3 separate regions of the Homo sapiens genome follow, and all the other regions are linked to region 3. The links are contacts of gene promoters, found by promoter capture Hi-C in blood cells and fetal thymus (Javierre and others, 2016). All regions are on one chromosome and are shown on one strand. Each heading gives the region's core, a stretch centred on a gene start or on the middle of the fragment in contact. The rest is flanking DNA. Distances are from core to core; before and after follow the strand shown.

The links. The method cuts DNA at HindIII sites, captures the fragments that hold promoters and counts their contacts. A CHiCAGO score of 5 or more calls a contact.
Region 1: a contact is called between a fragment that was not itself captured here and the fragment with the promoter of NAA15 in region 3, in 1 of 17 cell types (total CD8 T cells). The highest score is 5.0, in total CD8 T cells.
Region 2: a contact is called between a fragment that was not itself captured here and the fragment with the promoter of NAA15 in region 3, in 13 of 17 cell types (total CD4 T cells, total CD8 T cells, non-activated CD4 T cells and 10 more). The highest score is 16.5, in total CD4 T cells.

Annotation. Positions count from the first base shown.
Region 1 is chr4:139,657,613-139,660,322 of GRCh38, forward strand. No RefSeq gene overlaps it. Among named protein-coding and RNA genes, the nearest start is that of MGST2, 6.9 kb to the right of the region's middle. The HindIII fragment of the contact is 250 bases long and covers 1,138-1,387 here.
Region 2 is chr4:139,041,163-139,043,862 of GRCh38, forward strand. NOCT (nocturnin) reads left to right here. Exons shown (of 3, transcript NM_012118.4): 2 at 1,912-2,181. Among named protein-coding and RNA genes, the nearest start is that of NOCT, 27 kb to the left of the region's middle. The HindIII fragment of the contact is 7,272 bases long and covers 1-2,700 here.
Region 3 is chr4:139,300,124-139,302,823 of GRCh38, forward strand. It overlaps NAA15 (N-alpha-acetyltransferase 15, NatA auxiliary subunit), which reads left to right and starts at 1,382. Exons shown (of 20, transcript NM_057175.5): 1 at 1,382-1,708. The coding sequence starts at 1,655. NDUFC1 (NADH:ubiquinone oxidoreductase subunit C1) reads right to left here and starts at 2,354. Exons shown (of 6, transcript NM_001184989.2): 1 at 2,293-2,354. RefSeq lists enhancers at 773-892, 1,373-1,432. The HindIII fragment of the contact is 1,328 bases long and covers 947-2,274 here.

The DNA of each region.
Region 1 (2,710 bases), core at 13-2,512, 360 kb after region 3:
GAGGAGAAGGAGGGGAGGGAGAGGCGGAGAAAGGAAAGGAAGAAGTGGAAGAGGAAGAAGAAAGAAAGAAAGAAAGAAAGAAAGAAAGAAAGAAAGAAAGAAAGAAAGAAAGAAAGAAAGAAAAGAGAAGCAGGCAAGCAGTTTTCAAAGTTCTTTATCATCTTGCTAAGGTAGCTGAAGGATGCAGTCACAGGCCCGCATGCACAGGAGGGCTTTCCTGTTTGGGGCCAGTAGGTTTCTTGTTTTGCTGTGTTTCCTTTCTTTTTGTGCAGGACGTGACTTGGCCTCCGATCTAGACACATCGGTGTTTTTGTGAGTCATGTTCTAACAGGATTGTGCTGTGTTGAAATGACTGTTGTTTGGTGTGTCAGCCCAGATGCAGGTTTAGCACCACATTTCAAAGTGAATAAGAGCTGCTTTTAACTGTTTGTTCTTAATCCACCAACCTTTTGTGTTTTCTCATCAAAAGAGGGGTAGCTTGCCCTTTTTCTTTTGCCTTAAGCCCCAGAGAGACACCAAGTGAAGCCACGGTACCCCTTTTTTTCTTTAAGTAGCCCAATCACATAATATGCTGTAGGTTTCAAGAGAGTAAACTCTCCTCTGGTGCATAGAAATCTCAGTAAGTTCTCTGAGGCAGTAGTTGGTAGTCCTGGAGATTTTTCAGTTAAATCAGTGTTTATTTCAAAAACGCCCTTGGTGATTCTAATGTGAGAATCACCAGTCTCCATGCACTTCAAAGCCAGTGGGCGGGGAAGTACTGGGCCCAATCAGCTGAGACTCGGCTCCAGCCACACTTACCTTTGCTGGTGCCTCAGAGCCTGTTGCCCCATCTCAGCCTCAGATTTCCCTCCCATGTCTGTCTGTCCTTCTCTCTTCCACCCAGGCATACTGTAAACTCCTCCAGTGGAAACCAGCATTTCTCCTGGGCTGCACCCGTGAGGCCTACAGGTCCCATCTATTCCCAGCCTCACCTCTTCCCTTCTGCCACTGCAGAACCTTCCACACCCCTTTCTCCTCTATCCTGGCACCACTGATGCTCACTTTGGGCACCTACCAGATTATTCACCCCCTCAACAGCCCTGCCCCATCTTCCCTCTTTTGGATGCAGTCAAATGGAGTGATTTGTCAAGCTCTTGAAGCTTTCTAGGTCTCAGTTTCAGTTTCCTTATCTATAAAATGGGAATAATTTACAGGCTCCTGGGAGTTTTGTGCAAGTTACATGAGACCATGTGTGCTTTGCTGGCGTGTCATAATGGATCCTGGATGAGGCCCAGACATCTGTGTGTTTCTGTCACCTCCAGTGTGGTAGCAGTGGTATGGGCTATGCTGAGAAACATTGGTTAAGACAGTGGTTCTCCACCTGGCTGTGCATTAGGATTACCTGGGAAGCTTTAAAACGTTCAGGTGCCTAGGCTGAACCTGAGCTAATTAAATCTGAAGTTCTGTAATTTTTAATGACCCCTCCTCACATGATTCCAATGTGCAGCCAAAGTTAAGAGTAAAGGCTCTGGGGCAGCAGGACTGGGTTGTACTGACTCTGGGCCAGTCACTAACCTCTCAGCCTCAGTTTCTCCATCTGAAGAATGGGAATAATATATGCACTTTACTGTTTGACTATGCAGATTAGTTGAGATAATTCTGTCCAGTGGTTGGCATAGGGCCTAGTACAGTGCCTTCTGTTGACTGGATTTGGGAGCTGGCAGGGTGGGCATGAGAGGCCCCCATCAGAGTGAGGCCTTCTCAGCAGCCCTGGGCTCATCCAGAACACCTCAGGCCTCTGGGCTCCAGGCTGTCCCGTCTCTTGCTGCTCTATCCCAGCAAGTTCAACAGTCGAGCTCTGAGCATGGCCTACAGGAGCCAGGGCACGTTCACGCCAGTGACCCTGTTTTAAAGTATCTAATACAAAGTACTATTCAGTTTAAAAAGTTTGTAATGATTCCATGAAAAAGGCAAACCAATAGTATTAGTTGTTTTTGTTGTTGCTTAATTGCCAATATGCAGTATGTTACCTAATTTATGGGTTCAAATTTGATTTAAAACACAAAAGCAAAAAAAAAAAAAAAAGAATAGAAAGTTTTGTTTCATGTGTGGTAACCTGGAAACATGGCCACCATTTATATTATTATTATTATTTTTTGAGACGGAGTCTGGCTCTGTCGTCCAGGCTGCAGTGCAGTGGCACGATCACAGTTCACTGCAACCTCCGCCTCCTGGGTTCAAGTGATTCTCCTGCCTCAGCCTCCTGAGTAGAGTAGCTGGGACTACAGGCACGTGACACCATGCCTGGCTAATTTTTCTATTTTTAGTAGAGACAGGGTTTCACCATGTTGGCCAGGCTGGTCCTGAACTCCTGACCTCAAGTGATCCGCCCACCTCGGCTTCCCAAAGAGTTGGGATTAGAGGCGTGAGCCACCGCTCCTGGCCATAATATTATTTTTGTGAAAATATGTGTTCTGAGGTCTAAACATTCAGCTTACAAATTTCCTTTTGGAACGTAAGTTTTTGTAGAGTATGTAAGTGTATGAGTGTGTGTTTTGAATGTGTGATGGGAGTACATGAATGTGAATGTGTGAGTGCACAAGTGTGTGTGCGTGTGTGTGGGTGTTTATGAGTGTGGGTGTGTGTGCGTAGGAATGTGTATGAATCTGGATGTGTGTGTGTGTGACTTTGTGTGTGTGGGGAGGGCTGCATGTGCTGAGAGCTGTCAAGA
Region 2 (2,700 bases), core at 121-2,620, 260 kb before region 3:
AACTACTTTGAGTAGACAGGAAGGAACAAAAAAAGCATGCTTGCATCCTCATTGACCTTAATGTTCAAGGACATTTGGTGGTAAATAATTGAATTTCCTTTGTAACCTGCCACAGTGAATTTGATTGACTGCTAGTTTGAGATGTGATTGATAAGCCTGCCAAATTTTATAAAGAAAACTTTATATAATGTTTACATTTATAAAATGTTTATGTTTTATAAAGAAAACTTTGTATCTCTCAAGAGAGGGAAATCCAGATTGCCTGGTACCAGCATTTATCATACAGAGAATCTTGGATGTTACTCCCAGTAAAATGTGCCCCTAATTTATACTATAATGAAAATAAAACATAGTTGACCTCTAAAAGAGCAATCAACTGCTTTCAAGTGAACTGCCACATAATGCTAATTAGTTGAAGATTATGCTCTGTTCTCCTTAATGAATTATAAAAAGCAAAACACTAAAAATTAACTCGGGAAGACAAAGTAACTGGTGCTTCCTGCATTTTTCCTTGTTCTTTGTCTTTCTAGGATCCCAGGAAATGTGGGCAACTCATGAGAAGGTAGTGCCCTGGATGGAAGTTAGCTGAACAAAATCAGCTTACTCTAAGCCCTTCTGGCCTCAGCCCCTTTTCTGGATTTTAAGAAATCCAGCAATTGATACAAGATTATAGAGTATACCACTCAGTGAAGTTCAGAGTTCTACTACAGAAAGCCCAAGCCTTGATTTACACTTAACATCTAGGAGAAATGGGAAAGAATCTAGCCATTACTTTCCCCAACAGAGGGATCTGTATAGATGAGATGACCAGCGTAGCAAGCAGCCTGCTATTACCTAATCTCTCACCCAGGATTAACATTAACATGGGCTTTCTAACATTTCACTTTTTACAAACTAGTCTTTAAGATCTTTTTTTTTTTTTTTTTTTTGAGTCTCGCTGTGTCACCCAGGCTGGAGCTCAATAGAGTCACCTCAGCTCACTGCAACCACCATCTCCCTGGTTCAAGCAATTCGCCTGCCTCAGCCTCCTGAGTAGCTGGGATTACAGGCGCACACCACCACACCCGGCTAATTTTTTATGTTTTTGGTAGAGGCAGGGTTTCTCCATGTTGGCCAGGCTGGTCTCGAACTCCTGACCTCAAGTGATCCACCTGCCTCAGCCTCCCAAAGTACTGGGATTACAGGTGTGAGCCACCATGCCCAGCCTAGTCTTGAGGTTCTTAAGATATATAGAAAAAGGAATGTAGATTTTGTTAAGCCTTGCTCTTTTTTTAAGACTGGTTTTATAAATTACAAAGACAAATCCTAGGTTAGAAGAGGCCATCAAGATCAAAGTATTTCTTCCTTAAAAGGATGAGTTTTCATTGTTAATCAGAGGCTAGTTTTAACGGTAGTACTTAAATTAACTGTCCTAGTAGAAAGCTGGAACCTGGAAACTCCTTTATTCTGCCTCTGTAGAAATGGCTTTATACGCCGGGCGTGGTGGCTCATGCTTGTAATCCCAGCACTTTGGGAGGCCGAGGCGGGCAGATCACCTGAGGTCGGGAGTTCCAGACTAGCCTGACCAACATGGGGAAACCCCATCTCTACTGAAAATACAAAATTAGCAGCGGGTAGAGGTGCATGCCTGTAATCCCAGCTACTTGGGAGGCTGAGGCAGGAGAATTGCTTGAACCTGGGGGTGGAGGTTGCGGTGAGCCGAGATTGTGCCATTGCACTCCAGCCTGGGCAACAAGAGCGAAACTCCATCTCAAAAAAAAAAAAAAAGAAAAAAGAAATGGCTTTATACACTATTATGGCAACAATTGAGCTCCTGGTTTCGGTGGACAGTAAATGTTTATCTTACAGTTGTGCTGGGCGAGAAGTCAGGAAAAGGAGCTGAGTGTGTAACTGTGATTTCCTTTTCCGTAGTGTGTTCCATGGGAACCGGTACAAGCAGACTCTATAGTGCTCTCGCCAAGACACTGAACAGCAGCGCTGCCTCCCAGCACCCAGAGTATTTGGTGTCACCTGACCCAGAGCATCTGGAGCCCATTGATCCTAAAGAGCTTCTTGAGGAATGCAGGGCCGTCCTGCACACCCGACCTCCCCGGTTCCAGAGGGATTTTGTGGATCTGAGGACAGATTGCCCTAGTACCCACCCACCTATCAGGGTTATGCAATGGAACATCCTCGCCCAAGGTATGCTGGATGCTTTTGTGCCTCTGCAGTCAAGTTTGCTGTGACTGCCTTTCTGCTTCTGCACATCCACAGTGCACTGTTTTATGTGGAAGGAAGAGGTGTGGGCAGATGGAGGTGACTGCAGCAGCATGGAGAGCTCCTAGAAGAGGTTAAGACAGGGAATCATCTGGTTTTCACTTTTTTTTTTTTTTTAGAAAGAAAAAAGACACTTTAATTGTTCTTGGATAGTCTACAAACATGGAAGGTGTAAAGAATAAACCACGAGTTACTTGCTTTAATTGTAAAAACCAAGTCAGGTGCAGTGGCTCACACCTGTAATCCCAGCACTTTGGGAGGCCGAGGTGGGTGGATCACCTGTGGTCAGGAGTTCGAGACCAGCCTGACCAACATGGAGAAACCCCGTTTCTACTAAAAATACAAAATTAGCCGGGTGTGGTGGCGCATGCCTGTAATCCCAGCTACTCGGGAGGCTGAGGCAGGAGAATCGCTTGAACCCAGAAAGTGGTGGTTGCAGTGAGC
Region 3 (2,700 bases), core at 132-2,631:
TAGTTTTATAAAGTTAAGGTTAAAATACTGGCCATATTTCAAACTGAAACATAGTTTCCTGTATATATGATTTTTCTCAAACTTTTGAAGAGAGATCACAGAATTTAAGGAAACTCCAGGATTTGACTGTTAAAAACCTTATTTATGACCCCGGTGAAGGGCGAGGACAATCAATATAGCAGCTACAAAACCCAAGTTTATATTGGGAAACATGTATCTCAACTCACACCTTTCAGGGACAGTTAAGAGAAGTTTGAAAATTAAAATATCTTTGCAAATAAATTTAAAACAGTAAAAAACACGCACATATTGTTTAATAATTCATGATGCAAAGAATGCTACAGAGTGAAATCAGGATTTGGAAAGAGGTAATCAAAAACCAAAGGTTAAAAGTGGCTCATATAACTTGAAAATTTTTAGATCAATGGAATGCCACTTTGAAAAAGTTTTACGGTCAGCTGTTAATGAAATGACTTACATTTTTGGAAGGACTCCTATTCGGTATGTAGTCTGACCTCGCCTACTCGAGTAGTTCCCTCTAGTATCCTTGCCAGTCTTTGGCTTCTAAGATCTGAGAATTTCTGGGGATGGGGAGTTCGAGTCACAATATTAAGAACTAGTTTGAAGCCAGCTCCAGGGTAGTCTGTCTTTAAGTCTCCACTACTCCGCTCCAAGGTGACTCATAAGGTCGGTCCGTCAACTCTGCATTATATGGCCTCAACAACGAAATTAAAACACATACTTTAACCTCCAGAGCCTCCTTTGGCAGTGCAAATATGTCACTTCGGATCTGACTAACTACCTTTCCAGGCTGATCTTAAGCAACATTCACCAAATTACCGATACGACAGCCAGGCCCATTTCATCGGTCAAGCTCTTTCACGATTTCCAGACTCTGTTAAGCCCCTTTCTCCCCAGGGCTGTTAACAAGTCTCCACTGCGGTGAAGCTTTTTTCATTTTCCACTCCGCCTCTGCTCCTTAAATTAGGCATTTCGTCCATAATCAACTACAGCGCTTCTCAAACACCTACACCTGTATTTTAGCACTTTGGGCTCAAACGATGATCACACAGTGTGCGAGACTCTTTCCAAGGAATGAAAGGTCGATCTAGCAGGAAGGCGCCAGAGAGGCTGTTTTTGATGAGGAGGCGGTCTGAACCGTACTTGCCTAGCCTCCCGTAGCTCCGCGGGCGCTTCGAGGGTACCACGCACTGAAATGATGGGCGGGGCCTGCCCCGACCCTCCCGGCCTCCACAGGCAGGCCAGCCTCCAGGTTTCCCGGCAAGCTCCGAAACCCAGAGGAGGTGGGGAAAGGAGGTCACCGCGCCTGCGTGTTAGGAAGCGTGACCCGGGTGGGAAAACCCTCCGCGTCCGCCATTTTGGCTGCCTCTGTCGGTCTGTTCAGTTACCACGTGAACCGCCGACGGAGACCCGTAGTGGGGGAGGCGGCGGCAGCGTTAAGTGAGAAAGGAAAAAAGACAACGAGGAAAAAGGAGGTGTCCGGGTAGGGCAACGCGGCGACACCCGAGGCCTGGTGGTGGCGGCGGATCGAGATATTCAAGGCTGAAGCAGCTACGGAACGGCAGCGGCGGCGGTCGGACAAACTGACTGACCGAGCCGGGTGGTGGCGGGAGCAGCGGGAGCAGCCGGAACGATGCCGGCCGTGAGCCTCCCGCCCAAGGAGAATGCGCTCTTCAAGCGGATCTTGGTAAGTGTGAGGCTCCGGGCAAGCGGTGGGGAGGATTTAGCCGGTAACCGGGCCTGTCACCCCTAACCTCGGCCCGGCGGGCACTGAGCCACTCCCGCCCGGGACCCCGCCTTCATAGCTCTCGTCAGGCCGAATGCATTGCTTTGCTCCCTCTCTGTGGTTCCTACTATGGCCCGCGCGCCAGGGACCACAGGCTTCTTCATTCCATCCCCACGCTTGAGGCCCTGGTTCCGGACTAGGCCCCGACCTCCCGGCTTCTAGACTGCCGGTTCTCATTCTCCCCGATCTGGGGGAGAAGAGGCCCGGCCTTTGGCGGGCAAGTGGGCGACACCGGCAGGAGTCGCGGCCCGGTTGGTGTGGGAACCCTGCTGGCAGGTCGGGGTGGCACCCTTGGAAGGAACAGGTGGTGCGGATGCAGCAGGCTCATTCATTGCCTAAACGCGGTTCTCCCTCCATCATCTGTCCCTCCCTCTTCCTCCTCTCTTGGGATTCACCTGTCTCCGCCCGGCCCGGGGTCACCCAATGACCTGAGAGGAGGGAAAGAAGGAGTTCAGAGAAGGAAAGAAAGCTTTTCAAACGACTACCTCCTTGTAGTCAGTTGCATACTGGAGTCTTCAGCTCCTCTGCCTCCGTTGTTCTCGTTTCTGGAGTAGGGATGAGGCATTTATTTCTTAGTTTCCGAGCGGGAAACAGCCCCACCCCGTCACTCTTCTCGGGAGGTGGGGCCCATTGCGAGGGGGCGGTTCGGTAGGAAGTAAAAAGTTGAGTCTTTAGTTGAAACGTTGCAGACCTAGACTTTTCTTATACACTGAAGTATATTAACACATGCAAAAACTTACCAGAGAAATGAGAATATAAGAACTTTTGAGATGGATTTTGTTGACGCTAGCTCAGACTTATTCCCTACGGTTCAAATGTGTGCAGTTTGTATTTTTTTAAACCATAAATGCATTGATGTTTGCAGGGACTGTTTACATTGTAAAATATGTCCT